2 separate regions of the Homo sapiens genome follow, and region 1 is linked to region 2. Evidence: promoter capture Hi-C in 16 types of primary human blood cells and fetal thymus (Javierre and others, 2016). All regions are on one chromosome and are shown on one strand. The core of a region is centred on a gene start or on the middle of the fragment in contact, and the rest is flanking DNA. Distances in the headings are between cores, read along the strand shown. Region 1 overlaps APP (amyloid beta precursor protein). Region 2 holds the start of CYYR1 (cysteine and tyrosine rich 1).

Region 1 (5,183 bases), core at 1,439-3,938, 670 kb after region 2:
TTTTATCAAATTTCTACATTGGGCCAGGAGAGCCTATATGTTACTATTGAAACATCCAGGAACAGGTGACACTACCAGTCAATGTTTTTTTCTTTTTTAAAAAAATTGTTTTTTGATTTTTTTTTTTTTTTTTTGAGATGGAGTCTCGCTGTGTCCCCCAGGCTGGAGTGGAGTGGCACGATCTCAACTCACTGCAACCTCTGCCTCGGGGGTTCAAGCAATTCTTGTGCCCCAGCCTCTCAAGTAGCTGGGACTACAGATGCGCCCCACCATGCCCAGCTAATTTTTTTGTATTTTCAGTAGAGACGGGATTTCACCATGTTGGCCAGGCTGGTCTCGAACTACTGACCTCAGGTGATCCACCCACCTCGGCATCCCAAAGTGCTGGGATTACAGGCATAAGCACCATGCCCGGCCTATTCTTTTAAAAAAAATTTTTTTTAATCTAAATCTAACAAAAAGGACACCTCCAAACGCTGTCAAACAAAAACAGTGTGTTTTAAAGGAAGAGCTAGAGAATAGTTAATGGTATTACACTGGTGGGAGAAAACCATCCAAAACCTTTCTCATAACAGTAAGAATATGATGTCACTTGGGGATTTCACAAAGATCAATCCACTAAATTCTTTCTAGGTTTGAAAGAAATTAAACGGTAGGGTCCCTGCTCTCAGGAGCTTGAGGTATAATAGAAGGAATTTTGCATATTTGGAAACATGAGATGGAATTTGGAAGACAAGGAAATACAAAGCAACATTAAGTGCTAACAAGAATGTTCTGTGATGGGAGGAGATGGAGTACTAACCCAGGGGCATGTTAAGTAGAGAACTTACTGGAGATGGGCTTCCAGAGAGGTTATGAAAGATTTGAGGCACCTGGATTGGCAAAGAAGAAGGGAACAATTCTATTCAGAAGAGAGGGTGGCCTAAGCCAAGCTTCCTTTCATACACAGCGTAGGCTTGGGTTGCCCAGTAAGATGGCTAAAGTTGAGAAAGAATGCTCAGATATGAAGTGAGGAAGATTCTAGTTAAGGTTTGTCTATGAATAGCAGTATTTACTGCACATGTATTAAGCCATGCGTGTGTTCTGTTTTTGTGCTTGTAGTAAGTTTATCAAACATTTGGGCTAATTTCCCCGTGTTTTGTAGCATAGCTTTGGTTCTTCTTCACATTTTAGAGACCACCCACTTGAGTCTAATGTGCCGAATTATATCTTTAGCCTTTCCAAACTTAGAAAGCCTTCCCAAGATTGTCATGCCGTTCAAGTGATGGCATTGTTTTTGAATAATCACTGTTGTCCTCAGAAACAAGTTAAAAAAAGGTTTTTGTTTTTCCCCCACCCAGTGCTTTATAATCATGACTGAGGAAAATGGCTTCTCCTTAACTCTCATATCTAAAAAAACAGAATATGGTAGCTTCCAGCATGCAGTGTCAAGTAGGGACCATTGTAATAACAGTGGTGATTTGGGGGCATAGTGGCCATTATAGCTCCTCCTCCTGGCTTACTTCCAAAGAAAAAATAGACTCTGAAGGACTAATTATACAGTTTGACCAGAATAAAAAAGAAAAACACATTAGCGAGCTCTTCACATAGGGTAGAAAGCTACCCTTTCTGTTACAATTCATCACCACCCTTCTGCAGTCCAAATAAAGGGAAACCAGGTCCTTGACCCGAGCCATGCAAGAGGTGTCATGAAGGACATACCTCCCTTAGCCCCCACATGAACAAAAGGCTCTGTCCACTCATCATGACTTACAGGAAGAGAGAGCTGGAGTCACCAGGGCTTAGGGTGAAATCAGCACAACTCAAGAAAGACCTCTAAGTAAGCCTGCAAACCAAGGTCCCTGCCATTTATTTGAAACTACTCATCACATTTTATTACATGCATTATCACCTTATTATGAATATTTCCCTATGTGCCAGCTTACTGATTTTGTCTTTTAGTAAGATTTGCTTAATGTAAAAAGTCTTCCCTAGATGACTATTCATGCTAAACAAACATGAACTATTATAGCAAGAGCTCTTCTGCCAAGAGCTTCTCAAACTATTGAGCTGTAAACATGAATTTATCTGTCATGCTGACTTGATAATATGAATTTTTTTTTTTGGACCACCAAAAGTATTCACAGTATCATTTCAAAAGTAGTGTGGGCTTGTAAAGTTTTTAGTGGAGAGCTCTTGGTTTTGTTTTTTTTTTTTTTTTTTTTTTAAAACAGGATTTGTCTCTGTTTCCAGGCTGGAGAACAGTGGCATGATACCAGCTCACTGCAACCCCCATTTCCTGGGCTAAAGCTATCCTCCCACCTAAGTTTCCCATGCAGCTGGGATTACAGGGATGTGCCACCACACCTGGCTCATTTTTGTATTTTTAGTAGAGACAGAGTTTTGCCATATTGGCTAGGCTGGTCTCGAACTCCTGAGTTCAAACTGTTTGCCCGCCTCAGCCTCCCAAAGGCTGGGATTACAGGCATGAGTCACTGCACCTGGCCGAGAGCTCATTCTTTTTTTTTTTTTTTTTGAGATGGAGTCTCACTCTGTCGCCCAGGCTGGAGTGCAGTGGCACGAATCTCGGCTCACTGCAAGCTCTGCCTCCTGGGTTCACACCATTCTCCTGCCTAAGCCTCTAGTAGCTGGGACTACAGGTGCCTGCCACCACGTCCGGCTAATTTTTTGTATTTTTAGTAGAGACGGGGTTTCACCATGGTCTTGATCTCTTGACCTCGTGATCCTCCCGCCTCGGCCTCCCAAAGTGCTGGGATTACAGGTGTGAGCCACTGTGCCCGGCCAGAGCTCATTCTTTACTTTTATTTTTCAGTATAAATATTTGGCTCCAAAATCTAAAAGGGAAGACTCTTCAAACTGTTCAAGAAAGTTTTCTTAAAAATCTCAGAAATATAGTTCTAACCTATTGTGTTGCTAGATCTTTTATTTATTTATTTATTTTTGGAGACAGAGTCTCATTCTGTCACCCAGGCTGGAGTGCAGTGGCACAATCTCAGCTCACTGCAACCTCCACCTGCCGGGTTCAAGCGATTCTTATGCCTCAGCCTTCTGGAGTAGCTGGGATTACAGGCACCCGCCACCACACCTGGCTAATTTTTTTTTTTTTTTTTTTTTTTTTTTTTTTGTATTTTTAGTAGAGACAGGGTTTCACCATGTTGACCAGGCTGGTCTCAAACTCCTGACCTCAAGTGATCCACCCAGCTTGGCCTCCCAAAGTGCTGGGATTACAGGCGTGAGCCACCGTGCTTGGCACGTTGCCAGATCTTAATAACAGAAAAGGAGTGAGCTCTAAAGAAATCACTGGTTATATAAGGATCTCAGATTTAAAAGGGCTATAGAAAGATTAAAATATACAGCCAGTGAGAATTAAGAGAGTTTTAGCATCACTACCCTATAAAAATAAGTGTCAGAAAGGTTCGTTTCAGCAGAATGAGTTGAAACTTAACCAAAAAATACTTAACAATATTAAAGTAAGAAAATAAATAAGAATAGAGAACTCTGTGGGTCTCGTAGCAAGAAGTTGGGGGTTGAGGGTTAGGTCATTGAGAGGACCAGAGTTAAAGAATGAGAAAGGGAAACTGTCCCACTTCCATTGTGCCTTTTATGTCTATATTAAAGAGAATGAACTTCTGATGAAAGGAAATTAAAGCCCGAGATAGATCAACATGAGAAAAGAAAGCCCTAGCCCATTAGTTACCTATTGCTACGTAGCAAATAACGCGAGAATTTAGCAGCTTAAAACAACAAGCATTAGTTTCTTACAGTTTTTATAGGTCAGGATTTGGGATGTGGTTTAGCTGGATGGTTCTGGCACAGTGTCCGTCATGTGGTTGCAGTTAAGACACTGCCTGAGCTAAAGTCATCTGAAGGTTTGATTGGACCTGGTGGGTCTGTTTCCAACGTGGCTCACTCACGTCACTGTTACTAAGAGACCTCAGTATCTTACCATGTGAACTCTGTAATGCTGCTTGAGCGTCCCTACAACATGGCATCTCGCACCCCTGCACCAAGAGGTCCAGGAAAGAGATTAAGGAAGTTTTAGTGCCTTTTTTGGCCCAGTCTCAGAAGTCATACACCATCACTTCTATCATGCTCTGTTCACTAGAGCAAGTCACTACATCCCGACCACATTCGAAGGAAGGGAATCAAGTTCTCCCTCTTGAAGGAAGGAGTATCAGCAAATTTGTGGATATATTTTAAACTATGACATCTTGCTACCCAAGTCCAAGTTCTTATGACCCAGACCAACTGCAGGCTAAGAGAACTTGAAGGGGAAGTAGCACCATTGCCTGTGGTCTTTGTGGAAAGCTGGGAAGGTAGGGATAGGAAAATGAAGTTCTGAATAGCAAAAAGGAGAGAAGATAGCTTCACAATCTGTAAGCCAGGTATAGAGTGACATTGATTGTGGGTCTCTTTTCAAATAGGTTATCAAGTGGAAGCTTTTTGAACAATTGGATGAGGAAATGGTGCTAGGTCACAACCAGCGTGGATTTCCTAGGTTTTGTCAGATTATCCTTACCTTCTCCTTGTATAGGCTGTGCTCTTAGACTGGCACATCATATGCTGTGGACATTGTGCTTTTCAGTGTCAGCAAGATGTGTCACAAGTTTCCCAGAATCTCGTAGACAAGATTGAAAGAGTGATTAGGCCAAGAGCAGGAAGTGAATTCCCCTGGGAGCCAAAGGAATTGGGAATGTGTAGCCCAAGTAAGACAAGAACCAGCAGGAACATGCCTCTCCTTAGGGTCGTGATACCTGTTCAAGGTTTTAATGTGGAAGGGAGGATTAGGCTTGCTCTGTGTTGAATCAGGCTCAAAGGATGGAAGTTACAGGGAAGCTGATTCTGGCTTCATGTAAAAAAAGGACAGTTTGGGCAGGCAAATCTATCAAAAAATGGAGGGAAATTGATACATTCCTCTATGTTCAAACAGGAACTGACAATCTGCCCCTGGGTGGGAACACGGTAGAGAAGATGACTTCAAAAGCCCTTTTCATCCTAAAATTCTGATGTTTGATAATTAAATGTTATAGCATGGACACTGACATTTACATTTTTTACTTATGTTTTTGGTTTTTAAATGACTCTGCATTTTGTTTTAAGCTTCAAATTATTATTTGAATAATGAAATTCATCAGAACAATTAGTGTTAAGAATCATATAGCAATTTATAGAAAAGGAAGAGT
Region 2 (4,496 bases), core at 364-2,863:
CTTAGCTTATGTTTATTTTGGGGGTGATGTTTCCTCCCACTCTCGTATTCCCTTGCAGCACTGCATTTACAGGAAAAAATTCCTGGAAGAGAACTGACTAAATTAAGTACATGTGTATTTGAATTTTCGTACATATAACCACACCGTTTCCCTTAAGAGTTCATTTGGTTTTGTATTTGGTTGGTTTGATACATGAAAAGTGATGTCTCACTGTCAATTTTATTTCTATATTTATATTTATTTGTTTTGTATGAAGTGTCTATTAATATCCTTCCTCAGTTATCTCTTGGTTGTTTTTCCTATTGATTTTTTTAAGCTCAGTATAATAATGAGATTAGGACTTTGCATTGCAAATATTTTTGCCAGTTAAATGTCTGCCAACTGGAAGTATTAATTCTTATTTAGTCAAGTTGGTCAATATTTTGTTTTATGGTTTCTGAGTTTTTTATAATGCTTAGAAAAGGCTTCCCTATTCCACAATTATTTGAATGTTATCCTCTTATTTTTTAATCTAATATTTTCATAGTTGTATCTTAAATATGTAATTCATATAGAACTGATTTTGATGTAAAAAGATAAGGCTCCACAGATGGCTATTTACGGCCTCAACACTTTTCACTGAGTAACTCATCATTTCCCCTACTACTTTACATTGATATTTCTTTAAACCATAAATTAAATTGCTGTACATACTCATGTCTACTTTTGGGTTACCTTTTCTCTTTCACTAAGCCTATCTATTCCAATGTTAATCTAAACTGTTTTAATTATTGTGATATTATATGTAATATCCCATTCATTATTCCCATTCATTACTCTTGTTTTAAATAGATATTCTTACATATTTATTTTCCATATAAACTTTAGAATCAGATTGGTTTGAAAAAAATCATGTTATTTTAAAAATTGGGATCAATTTTATTTCCAAATGTATATAATAATTTGGGGAATCTTGTTGTCTTTATCCTACTAAATTTTCTTAGTGAAAAAAGTATCTCTTTACTTATTCGTATCATTTTTTTTCCTTCATGCATAACATTGAGAACTTTCTGATTTTTGTTTGCAGGAAAGAAAACTATTGGTTTGCTAAACAAGAGCTTTATAGTTGATTAACTTTGATTTTCCATGTATACACGTATTTCATTTGCTAATGACAATTTAGCTTTCATTTTTCATAAATCTTTTTCTTTCTCTTGTTTAATTGCATAGGCCAGTAACTCCAAAACGTCAAAATCATAACGACAGTGTGCACTGTTGTGTTTTTTTTTTCTGAATTTACAGGAAAAAATAATAAACATTTTATCAGCTTTCAGCAGAGATGCCATACACTTTCTGTACTTCCCAATCCTGAGTTTTCTTCACTGTCACTCTTTGTCGAATACCTTCAACCCTGAAAATTCCTTCCCTTTGTTTAAAGATAAAAAGCAAAGTTGTTCATCCATTGCTTAGAAAGGAAAAATTGTAGTGGAGGCAAGGTTAAAAAGGAGCAGGCTGAACTCCATAGCAATCGCCAAAGCAAGGGGTTAGGAAAAGTTTCTTGGTCCCCTAGTCACTCTTTAGAAGGAAGAACCCGGGCTTGGGGAGGAGTCGGGGCCACCCCCGCCCCCTGCCCGCAGTCGTTGCCACCCGCGGAGATGAAATGTGAGCCTGGGTGGCCAAGGACGCCGGAGTGGCCGCCTTCCCCGCGCCTGAGCGCAGTGGGGCGAGACAAAGAGACCTGGGCCCCCAGCGCAGCCCGTCTCGGGCCACGGGCGCCCCAGCTCCGCGGAGTCCCGCAGTCGCTGGCCCGGGACGCGCCCGGCCCGGGCTCCCTTGGAAGGCTCCCTAGGCAATGGCCGGGTCTCTGCTCCACCCGGCTCTCAGGAGCGCTGCTCTCTCCATCTGATCGCCCTCCATCCTCCCCATTCCCTCCGGTTCCGGGCTCTCCCTTCGCTCCAAGCCTCAGGCCACCGGCTTGGATGGACGCTCCGAGGCTACCCGTGCGTCCAGGGGTCTTGCTTCCGAAGTTGGTCCTGCTCTTTGTCTACGCAGGTCAGTGACGGAGGGCGGCGGAGAGGGTCAGAGGCTCGGGGCTGCCCTTGGGTCACGGTCCGGGCTAACGTGGGTTGAGCTGGACGGACCGGGACCTTTGCAGAAGGACCTTTGCAGACGCTTCTGCCTTTTCCGCGAGGCGACGGCAGAAACCCGCGCACTTCCAGCCGCACGCGGTTTTGTTTTGTTCCTTTTCCTTTAACTTTTACCTTTTGCATTTCTTTTCTTTCCCTTTCCACCTTGGAAATAGCAGTCTCGTGTTTAGGGGATTTGACTCTCTGGATAGAGTAAACTATATCCAAATAAACTTATCTGGATAGGCTAGGCAGTGGCCTCTCCATCTTCTGCTTTCTAAATAGTCCTGGTTTTCCCTCTTGTGAATAAAAAAAACTTAGAGCTTTGTTTTCGTTCTTTGGGAGATTCACAAGTGTGGTAGACTGAGCTATTGGACTGAAGTCAAACACAAGGTTTTTGAGAAGCATGAATTCACCCAGGGTCTAATCTGTACAGGTTCGTTGATTTAGATAGACACTTGTTTATAAGAGAAGGGCATCTGGTTTCCCTTCTAATTATTCGTAGTAAGAACTGCTAATAATTAACGAAGCAAAGTGGGTTTTCTTGTTTGTGATTAATATGGAGCCCCAAATGGCCTTTCATTGGTTATTCAGGTATAAAGTGTCTTACACACGTGGTCTTTGCATCAGTTCATATTCACAAAACAATGCAAGCTAAAAGCAAAGTTCTTTGTAAAATGTTTTTGTGTCTCTAACGTCCTATGACAAAAATCGCAGGCTCACCCCTGAGCCTCCAATACGAAATGTATATATAGCACTGAAATTTACCTTTGATACTCAAAAAGATATTGCAACTGAAATGATGTTCTTCAGTGTTGCACCTGAGTATTAAAAGAATTGAATTTCTCATTCAACCTTGCTAGAAAAGAGTCACCATAACTTCTGTAGACATTTTTAGCCTGTTTATTGAAATGCAAATTAGTGGCTGTCTAGGAGTTACCATTTTAAAGATGTTTTATGGCAGGAAAAATGCTGACCTTCTAATATGAAAATTCATAAAAGTAGGATAAGTTCTTCGTATTTAATGAAGAGAATTACATTTAATCTGTTTACAACATTTATTTCTTTTATTAAATTTGTATAAGGTTTTCAGAATTTGAGGGATTAACAGAGTCAACTGCATTAATATTCATTTTCTATTGAAAAAATCTCTTTATTAGTTCTTTCGAAGTAATTATGCTTTTCACTTCCTCTGCTCGACAATATTTAATACTTTCACTCACACTTATTCAACCACTCCATTGAACCACAATTTTGTTTGTTTGTTTGTTTGTTTATTATATTCCCTGTGGTAAACTGAAAGCTTCTGCTTTACACATCTGCCCCCTCCTCCTGTTTCCCCAGTGCTAGGTGCCCAGCTCCTCAGGGCTCAGGAAATCAGCGAAGCTGGCCAGCAACAAGGGTGGTTAGTTTAGAAAGTTTTCAGTCCATTCATTTCTCTTCTTTGGAATCCCTCTATCATAAGCTACAAAGTAGTTGTAAGCCAGTGCTAAGTTGACTTACTATCTTTGCTAAGAAGTGTTTAGCTAATAAGCTCTTTGGTGTCAATTCCTGGACTTGTTATTCAGAGGCCTTTTTATGCTTTTCATATTCATTCAACTATTACTTACTGAGTGAGGTATGTTGAGCCGTAAGAGGTCATGTTCTTATCAGTCTTCTCTGGGAACTACGGTATGATCATAAGTTACTTTAAGGTATAAAAGGTTGTGTCATAGGAGAGGTAAAATCACGTGCTATAGATGTTCAAAGAAGAAAGTCTTACTGCTGGCTTAAAAGAGTAAGCTTCATGAGGACAATGTCTATTTTGTTCAGCAAAAAGATCAATCAGTATTTGCTCAGGAAAACTGAATTGAAGAAGACTTGAAGGAACTAGACCTTTGAAAAATATAGACGCCCTGAACCCAACGAGACGGAGTGGGATATAGTAGGATATCGTGTGATCAAAGTCAAAAATCAAGATCTGTACATGCAACAAAGGATATTTCAGTTTGGTTGGAACTAAGAGGTATGGCTAGAAGTAAGGGTTGAGGTTAGATGCTGGAACACCACAGAAGTCAAAATAGTTCATACTATTAAATGAATTGCCAGCTTTGTGGGACAAAAATCTAAGTAGATGCACTGCTCATAATCTAAATTATTTTCCCCAAAGCAAATGCATTAGATTCACATTTCATTTGGCTAAACAAATAAGAGCAAGGTTTCTATACCTGAAGCATCATGTTGTACTATAGAGTTACTTTTGGAAGGAGACCCAGTGAAGTGTTGATATTATTGTCTGACTCCCACTGCAGGCTACAAAGACAGGATTCGGTCAAGGTTTTACCTTCCGGGCCTCAGCCAGTAACTTCTGTCTCCTCCCTTTCCTTCCTCTCTTATCTTAGCTATAGCTTG

The links. Contacts are between HindIII fragments. The CHiCAGO score rates a contact against its expected background, and 5 or more counts as called.
Region 1: a contact is called between a fragment that was not itself captured here and the fragment with the promoter of CYYR1 in region 2, in 5 of 17 cell types (M0 macrophages, naive B cells, M2 macrophages and 2 more). The highest score is 8.0, in M0 macrophages.

The regions. Positions count from the first base shown.
Region 1 is chr21:25,898,320-25,903,502 of GRCh38, reverse strand. The region is part of intron 15 of APP (amyloid beta precursor protein); the gene reads left to right. Among named protein-coding and RNA genes, the nearest start is that of GABPA, 170 kb to the right of the region's middle. The HindIII fragment of the contact is 3,507 bases long and covers 935-4,441 here.
Region 2 is chr21:26,570,403-26,574,898 of GRCh38, reverse strand. CYYR1 (cysteine and tyrosine rich 1) reads left to right here and starts at 1,613. Exons shown (of 4, transcript NM_001320768.2): 1 at 1,613-2,031. The coding sequence starts at 1,959. The HindIII fragment of the contact is 4,187 bases long and covers 1-3,410 here.